3 separate regions of the Homo sapiens genome follow, and regions 2 and 3 are each linked to region 1. The links are contacts of gene promoters, found by promoter capture Hi-C in human tissues and cell types (Jung and others, 2019). All regions are on one chromosome and are shown on one strand. Each heading gives the region's core, a stretch centred on a gene start or on the middle of the fragment in contact. The rest is flanking DNA. Distances are from core to core; before and after follow the strand shown.

Region 1 (2,919 bases), core at 116-2,615:
CATGAATATTTGTAGTAGCTTTATTCATAATTGCCCAAACCTGGGAGCAACCAAGATGTCTTTCCATAGGTGAATGGATAAATAAACCATGGTACATCCAGACAATGGAATACCATTCAGTGTTAAAAAATAAGTGAGCTGGCCATGCAAGGTGGCTCACGTCTGTAATCCCAGCACTGTGGGAGGCAGAGGCAGGCGGATCACTTGAGCCCAAGTGTTTGATACCAGTGTGGGCAACATGGTGAGGCCCTGTCTCACAAAAAATACAAAACTTATCGGGGTGTGCACCAGCACCTGTAGTCCCAGCTATTTGGGAGGCTGAGGTGAGAAAATCACAGGAGCCCAGGAGGTTGAGGCTGTAGTAGCTGTGATTTCACCAGTGCATTCCAGCCTGGGTGACAGAGCAAGACTCTGTCTCAAAAAAAAAAAAAAAAAAAAAAAGAAGTGAACTATCAAACCACAAAAGACATGGAAGAACCAAAGTGCGTATTACTAAAAAAGAAGTTGAAAAGGCTACATAATGTATGAGTCCAGCTCTGTGACATTTTGGAAAAGGCAAAATTAAGGAGACAGTCAAAAGATTCCTGGTTGCCAGGGGCTGGGAGAGGGAGTGATGAAAATGCAGAACACAGATGAATCGGGGCGGAGAAACCCGTCTGTACAATATTAGAGTGGTGGGTCTGCATGATTATACATGTGTCCAAACCTGCAGAATGCACAGCACCGGAGGAAAGCATAATGGAAACTGCAGAGGGCGATGATGATAATAACAACGTGTAACAAATGGCTGGGACGGGAGGACTGGGGAAGGCTGTGCACCTGCAGGAGCAGGGGAGCGGTGGGAGAGCTCCATGCTTTTGGCTCAATTTTGCTATGAACCTAAAACTGCTGTAAAAAATAGAGTCTACTGAAAAAACAAGTGTTAATTTATAAGCGTCTTGTTTAAAGAGCGAAGAGATGAACCACAAAGGGGAAAATGTGTTTAAACAATAACTAATTGACAATTGGCTGGTTCTTAAAATTCAGAGAACTTTAAGACAGAGACAGCAAAGCAGGGATCACGTTTTACAAACGCGGCAGGACCAGGACGTCGTGCCCACGACGGGCCAGCAACCACAGGCTGGATGCTCACCCTGTGCCAGCCTGCAGACGGAGAGCACCCACCCCAATCTCCAGCCCCCAGAGGAGCTGCCTCTCCAGGGCCTTCCTGCAGGTGCCCAGGGGCTGCACATGGCCCTCCTTGGAGGGAGCTGGTGACTCAGCACTTTCATTTCCTGGAAACTGAGGCTCATGGGAGATATGCAGATGAGCCCAGAGCACCATGGGAAATGGCCCTTTATATACCCAAATGGGCTCTGCCTCCTCCTTTCCCTGGGTGCCCACATGAACAGAGACACCAGGATGGTGAGATCTCCCGAGGAGGGGTCTCTGAGGAGGGGTCTCGGAGACACGGCCTGGTGCTGGGTGAGGGGTTGGGAGGCTGAAGCGGGGCCAGGATTCCTCAGGTTCCCTCAGTTTCCCTCAAATTTCCCTCAGTTTCCCTCAGGTTCCCTAAGGTTCTCCAAGTTCCCTCAAATTTCCCTCAGTTTCCCTCAGGTTCCCTCAGTTTCCCTCAAGTTTCCCTCAGTTTCCCTCAGGTTCCCTCAGTTTCCCTCAGGTTCCCTCAGTTTCCCTCAAGTTTCCCTCAGTTTCCCTCAGGTTCCCTCAGTTTCCCTCAAGTTTCCCTCAGGTTCCCCCAGTTTCCCTCAAGTTTCCCTCAGCTTCCCTCAGGTTCCCCCAGTTTCCCTCAGGTTCCCTCAGTTTCCCTCAAGTTTCCCTCAGTTTCCCCCAGTTTCCCTCAAATTTCCCTCAGTTTCCCTCAGGTTCCCTCAGTTTCCCCCAGCTTCCCTCAGGTTCCCTCAGTTTCCCTCAAGTTCCCCTCAGTTTCCCCCAGTTTCCCTCAGGTTCCCCCAGTTTCCCTCAAGTTCCCCTCAGGTTCCCCCAGTTTCCCTCAAGTTTCCCTCGGGTTCCCCCAGTTTCCCTCAGGTTCCCCCAGTTTCCCTCAGTTTCCCTCAAGTTTCCCTCAGGTTCCCCCAGTTTCCCTCAGGTTCCCTCAGTTTCCCTCAAGTTTCCCTCAGGTTCCCCCAGTTTCCCTCAGGTTCCCTCAGGTTCCCCCAGTTTCCCCCAGGTTCCCCCAGTTTCCCCCAGTTTCCCTCAAGTTTCCCTCAGGTTCCCCCAGTTTCCCTCAGGTTCCCTCAGTTTCCCTCAAGTTTCCCTCAGGTTCCCCCAGTTTCCCTCAGGTTCCCTCAGTTTCCCTCAGGTTCCCCCAGTTTCCCCCAGGTTCCCCCAGTTTCCCCCAGTTTCCCTCAAGTTTCCCTCAGGTTCCCCCAGTTTCCCTCAGGTTCCCTCAGGTTCCCCCAGTTTCCCCCAGTTTCCCTCAGGTTCCCCCAGTTTCCCTCAGGTTCCCTCAGTTTCCCTCAGGTTCCCCCAGTTTCCCTCAGTTTCCCCCAGTTTCCCTCAAGTTTCCCTCAGGTTCCCCCAGTTTCCCTCAGGTTCCCTCAGTTTCCCTCAGGTTCCCCCAGTTTCCCTCAGGTTCCCTCAAGTTTCCCTCAGGTTCCCCCAGTTTCCCTCAGGTTCCCTCAGGTTCCCTCAGTTTCCCTCAGGTTCCCCCAGTTTCCCTCAGTTTCCCCCAGTTTCCCTCAAGTTTCCCTCAGGTTCCCCCAGTTTCCCTCAGGTTCCCCCAGTTTCCCTCAGGTTCCCTCAGTTTCCCTCAGGTTCCCCCAGTTTCCCTCAGGTTCCCTCGGGTTCCCTCAAGTTTCCCTCAGGTTCCCCCAGTTTCCCTCAGGTTCCCTCAGTTTCCCTCAAGTTTCCCTCAGGTTCCCCCAGTTTCCCTCAGGTTCCCCCAGTTTCCCTCAAGTTTCCCTCAGGTTCCCCCAGTTT
Region 2 (2,919 bases), core at 309-2,808, 230 kb after region 1:
AGGCGCCCAAGCTCTTGCATATTCACTTCCTCCCATCACACGTGCTGTGTACAAGCACCCTCAGAGCTCGCTTTGGGAGACCCCTGCCTCAGGGCTGCGGGTGCCGCCGTCCACACCACAGGCCCTTCTGCTTCCTGTTTCCAAAGCTCATCTCCTGTCTCTGGGCTGCAGGCGCTGTTTCTGGTTTACTGGCACAACTGTGGTTGTGTTTTTGTCAATGACTTCATCTTTGCTGCTGTTGTTTTGAGATACTGTCTTGCTCTGTCACCCAGGCTGGAGTGCAGTGCCGAGATCTCAACTCACTGCAGCCCCGACCTACTGGTCTCAAGCCATCCTCCTGCCTCAGCCTCCCAAGTAGCTGGGACTACAGGTGTGCAGCACCACATCCAGCTAAGTTTTTGTATTTTTTGTAGAGACAGGGTCTCACTATGTTGCCCAGGCTGGTTTCAAACTCCTGGACTCTGGTGATCCTCTAGCCTTGGCCTCCCAAAGTGCTGGGATTACAGGTACGAGCCAGCATACCCAGCCAGTGTTGTCGTTTTGATTTGGGAGTTCGGGGCTGAGCTGTGTTTGGCCAGGGCCTCGCCTGCTCAGTGTGCTCCTGGGCTGAGCTGCGGTCCTGGAGCATCTCTTGGCTCACATATTGACTCCTCCGGCCTCTCTACTGTCCTGGTCCTTCATGGGGCTCACATGTGTGTCCTCTTGTTTTCTTTCTGTCACCTTCTTAAGGGTTCACAGATCACTGTCAGTGGAAGGTGTTGCCACAGCTCAAGCCTCACAGTGGAGGAACCTCATGAGGCCCTTCACGGGGCCACTCCCTGTCTGGACAGGCCTGCCTGACCAGCCCTGCTGGGAAGCCTGGGCTTTGCTGCTGCTTCACCCTGCGACATTCTCCTCAGGCCCTGCCTTTCGCTTCTTTCGTTAACATTGTTCCTGCCTTGATCGTTTGCTCCCTCCTGCCTAACTCTGCTCTTCTTCCTTGTGTAGCAGTTACGTGGTCCTCAAATATCATTTGTTGACTCCAGTGTTTCCTGGGGCATCTCCTCAAGCTGGCTGGGGTTCTCTGCATCTCAGCTGTGGCGCCTGGTGTGAGGGCGCACGCTTCGCAGTGAGAGTGAAATGCCCAGTTCGCGCTGGCAGAGGGAGACCCTGTGAAGGTCTCCCTGTGCCAGGCACAGGCTCTTATTCTGAAAGCAGACCCCGTGAAGGTCTCCCTGTGCCGGGCACAGGCTCTTATTCTGAAAGTAGACCCTGTGAAGGTCTCCCTGCGCCGGGCACAGGCTCTTATTCTGAAAGCAGACCCAGTGAAGGTCTCCCTGTACCGGGCAGAGGCTCTTATTCTGAAAGCAGACCCCGTGAAGGTCTTCCTGTACCGGGCACAGGCTCTTATTCTGAAAGACCCAGTGAAGGTCTCCCTGCGCCGGGCACAGGCTCTTATTCTGAAAGCAGACCCCGTGAAGGTCTCCCTGCACCGGGCACAGGCTCTTATTCTGAAAGCAGACCCAGTGAAGGTCTCCCTGTGCCAGGCAGAGGCTCTTATTCTGAAAGCAGACCCAGTGAAGGTCTCCCTGTGCCAGGCAGAGGCTCTTATTCTGAAAGCAGACCCTGTGAAGGTCTCCCTGTACCGGGCACAGGCTCTTATTCTGAAAGGGTACGCAGCAGTTTCTGGAAGGAAGGAAGGAGGGAGGGAGGGAGGGAGGGAAAGAGGAAGGAAGGAAAGGAGAGCGATAGGCACAGAGGAAGGTAGATGAAGCCCCGCGCCCCCCTGGCGGAGCCCAGCCCTGTTCACCGCGTGCTGTGCGGGTGCCTGTGCCAGGATCAGCTGGCTGGACGGCTATAGCCCCACGCCTGCAGGCCACATACCTGGGAGAGTGTGGGCCTTCCGAGCCTTCTGGCTCCCGGCCCCACAGAGGAATTACGGTCCCATGTCCCTCACAAGGACCCTTGCAGAGGGAGCAGTGCATCGGCACAGAGCAGGACACAGGGGAGCCGGGCTGAGGCTGCGGGTCCCTTGTGGCCGCCAGGTGCTCACGCGTGCCTCGGTGGGGATCTGGCAGCCAGATTTGGGGTGAGGATTTGATGATGTGGGTATCCCTAGCTGGTCCCACAGTGACGATGGGTGTTGCGTTGTGAGCATGTAAAACGGCAGTGACGTCTGAGGGTCCCTGGACGTCTTTCACACCCAGCCTCAAAGCGGAGCCTTTCCAGGCAGAGCAGCAGCTGCCGCCACTGGATTGACAGCCCCAGAGCAGCGGGATCAGGCCACGCGGACGAGGAGGTGCGAGGCCTCGGGTCGGGGCCTGTGTTCTGCGGGAGCCGCACCCATCATCGCTGTGGCGGTGGCAGTGGAGCAGCTGCTCTCGTGTCTGAGCTGCTCCGGCGTCTCTGTCCACAGTATAGGGTCTTCTGATGCTTCCTGGAGGTCTCGGAGGGGCTTGCTGCGTGTAGTACCCACACAGCCCACAACTGGGGTGTTGTCAAGTGTTATGACGTAGGTTGCCTGTGGAGTAAAAGTTGGCCGCTAAGAAATGCTCTAGACAGGCCGGGCACGGCGGCTCACACCTGTCATCCCAGCACTTTGGGAGGCCGAGGCGGGCGGATCACGAGGTCAGGAGATTGAGACCATCCTGGCTAACACGGTGAAACCCTGTCTCCACCAAAAATACAAAAAATTAGCTGGACATGGTGGCGGGCGCCTGTAGTCCCAGCTATTCGGGAGGCTGAGGCAGGAGAATGGCATGAACCCGGGAGGTGGAGCTTGCAGTGAGCTGAGATCGCGCCACTGCACTCCCGCCTGGGCGACAGAGCGAGACTGTCTCAAAAAAAAAAAAAAAAAAAATGCTCCAGACACTTCAGTTTGAAAATATTGGAATTTATGTGGGGAGGATTAGTGTGCATGGAAGGCCAAAAATGTGAATG
Region 3 (2,919 bases), core at 275-2,774, 220 kb before region 1:
TGTTTATTGTAATCTGAAGTTTCTGTAATGAAAACGACACAATTAGGGAAATATTTTTAAAAATGCATGTCTTAGATGAAGGGGTGTTACCTGAGATGTAAAATGGGGCTGCACCTGTCCCAAAGGTGGGCTGCGATCCAAAGGCCTCCTGGGCTCCTCGCCTGGCTTCCGGGCCTCAGGGGCAGGAGGGAGGGCGTGGTGCAACAGCCACCCTGGGAATGGGATGGGGACAGAGTTTGTTCTCTGTGCATCACTTCTGGATTCCTCTTGTGTTGAATGCAAACACTCAGAAAGAACAGCATGTTCCTTTTCAAAACCAAAGTAACTTCCATTACATCGAGAACTTGGGGAGGGCCGGACAACAGTGAACTGTGACACACAGCATTTCGGTAGAGCTCTTGCACACACAATGCCACGCCCCTGCCACACACAGCCCTTGCTGTCCTCACAGCGGGGGCAGCAAGCACATTCGCTAACAGAAGCACCCAGACGCCCTTTCTGTGGCAGGCACAAAGAAGAAGCAAAAACTTGCCAGGTGCGGAGGCTCACGTCTGTAATCCCAGCACTTTGGGAGGCTGAGGCAGGTTGCTCACTTGAGGCCAGGAGTTCGAGATCAGCCTGGCCAACATGGTGAAACTCCGTCTCTACTAAAAATACAAAAATTAGCTGGGCGTGGTGGTGGGCACCTGTAATCCCAGCTACTCGGGAGGCTGAGGCAGAAGAATTGCTTGAACCCGGGAGGCAGAGGTTGCAGCGAGCCGAGATCATGCCACTGCACTCCATCCTGGGTAACTCCATCTCAAAAAGCAAGCAAACAAACAAACAAAAGAAGCAAAAGCTTAAGTATAACAACTTAAAAATGATGGTTCTACTCAAAGCTTCGGCATGCTAGCTTACTTAGAAATGACCCCACATCAAACGAGATCCTTTCATCAATTCCATTCATGTTATGTTATGTAAAGATCTGCTCCTTCTCTAAGCAGACACATCAGAAGACATAATTACTGAAATAACATTTCCCAGGATTACAAATCAGTTTCGTTAAACTCACTGAGGATTCCAACAAGGTTTTTGGAGGGTGTTTATAACTGTTGACATTTCACATATTGGAAATTGAAACAGACATTTTTTTTTTTGAGATGGAGTTTCGCTCTTGTCCCCCAGGCTGGAGTGCAGTGGCGCGATCTCGACACCCCCAGAACATCCACCTCCTGGGTTCAAGCAATTCTCCTGCCTCAGCCTCCCAAGTAGCTGGGATTACAGGCATGCGCCACCACGCCCGGCTAATTTTGTATTTTTAGTAGAGACGGGGTTTCTCCATGTTGGTCAGGCTGGTCTCGAATTCCCGACCTCAGGTGATCTGCCCGCCTTGGCCTCCCAAAGTGCTGGGAATACAGGTGTGAGCCATGTGCCTGGTCAAAACAGAAAAATTTTAAAGCTTTTTTATCAATTAACTTGAAGTTAGCCATGATGAACATATTGCTTATGATCAACATCTGAGGAGCATCGCAGGATTAGCTCTGCCCTGTGGACATCCCGAGATGGGCCCTCAAGTAAAGCATCAGTTTCTTCTACGCAATAAAAGAACCCAAAGATGACACTTGGAAATGAACGTGTTTCCCTTGGTTTATAAACACCTGAATTTAAAAGCCATGAAGTCAGAAGATGCACGTGTGGGCAAAAACCTCCTGAAGACACTCAACACCATTGGTCACCAGGAGAATGTAAAATCAAGCCCACTATGGGATCCCGCCTCACACCCACTAGGTTGGCTGGGATCAACAGGATAGAAAACAGCTGGGTGCGGTGGCTCACACCTGTAACCCCAGCACACTGGGAGGCCGGGTGGGGGGGATCCTTGATGTCAGGTGTTGGATACTGGCGTGGGCAACACAGTGAGATCCCACCTCTATTTTTAAAAGAAATTTTTTTAAATATAAAAAAAATAAAGTTTTTAAAGATATGCAATAAAAGTATTCTTAATTAAAAAAAACCCCGACAGAAAATAGCAAGTGCTGGTGCAGATGTGGAGAAATCAGAACCTTCGTGCGCAGCTGGTGGGCATGGGAGGCGGTTTGGTGGCTCCTTACCAGGTTAGACACAGAATTCCCACATGACCCAGCAAGGCCACTTCTAGGGAGGCATCCAAGAGAACTGAATGTTCACAGCAATATTATTCACAATAGCCCAAAGGCGGAAACCATCCAAATGTCCATCAAACTGATGGACAAATGCCTACAGTGGCCTGTCCCCCAGCAAAGAGCTCTTCCCATGGAAAGGAATTAAGTGCAGACGCCCCAGCACGAGGGACCCTCAAACAGGACACAGAGGGAAAGAAGCCAGGCACAAAGGGACACATCCTGTGGGATCCTGCTGAAGTGAAACGTCCAGAACAGGCAAAGGCATGGAGGCAGAATGTGGGTGCTGGGCGGGGGACAGGAAGCAACTGCGAATGAGTGTGGGGTTTCCTCTGAAGTGAAAGGAATTCTGGAACAAATGATGATGCTCGCACAACATTCTTGACGTGCTTAATGCACTGAACTGTATACTTTGTATACTTCATGAGCTTTCAACAGTACATTTTATATGTATAGTACCAAAAAAAAAAAAAAAAAAAGAAAACTAGTTTTTTTGAGACAGAGTCTTGCTCTGTCACCCAGGCTGGAGTGCAGTGGTGCAATCGCGGCTCACTGCAGCCTCCACCTCCTGGGCTCAAGCGATCCTCCCACCTCAGCCTCCCAAGTAGCTGGGACCACACCCAGCCAAGTTTTTTGTTTTTTAGTAGAGACAGGGTGTCACTATTCTGCCCAGGTTAGTCTCAAACTCCTAGCCTCAAGTGATCCTCCTCCCTTGGCCTCCCAAAGGGCTGGGATTAGAGGCATGAGCCACTGCACCCAGCTGAAAGCTAGGTCTTGTTTT

The links. The method cuts DNA at HindIII sites, captures the fragments that hold promoters and counts their contacts. A contact is called where the count stands out against the background at its distance.
Region 2: a fragment that was not itself captured here is called in contact with the fragment with the promoter of TEX19 in region 1 in 2 of the 25 tissues and cell types used here (bladder and spleen).
Region 3: a contact is called between a fragment that was not itself captured here and the fragment with the promoter of TEX19 in region 1, in 7 of the 25 tissues and cell types used here (dorsolateral prefrontal cortex, heart right ventricle, lymphoblastoid cells and 4 more).

Annotation. Positions count from the first base shown.
Region 1 is chr17:82,357,882-82,360,800 of GRCh38, forward strand. TEX19 (testis expressed 19) reads left to right here and starts at 1,366. Exons shown (of 2, transcript NM_207459.4): 1 at 1,366-1,404. RefSeq lists a silencer at 2,552-2,846. The HindIII fragment of the contact is 14,968 bases long and covers 1-2,919 here.
Region 2 is chr17:82,591,677-82,594,595 of GRCh38, forward strand. The region is part of intron 8 of FOXK2 (forkhead box K2); the gene reads left to right. Among named protein-coding and RNA genes, the nearest start is that of FOXK2-AS1, 4.7 kb to the left of the region's middle. RefSeq lists silencers at 117-411, 1,524-1,724. The HindIII fragment of the contact is 5,736 bases long and covers 1-2,919 here.
Region 3 is chr17:82,133,983-82,136,901 of GRCh38, forward strand. It overlaps CCDC57 (coiled-coil domain containing 57), which reads right to left. Exons shown (of 19, transcript NM_001394669.1): 16 at 91-212. Among named protein-coding and RNA genes, the nearest start is that of FASN, 37 kb to the left of the region's middle. The HindIII fragment of the contact is 3,997 bases long and covers 1-2,919 here.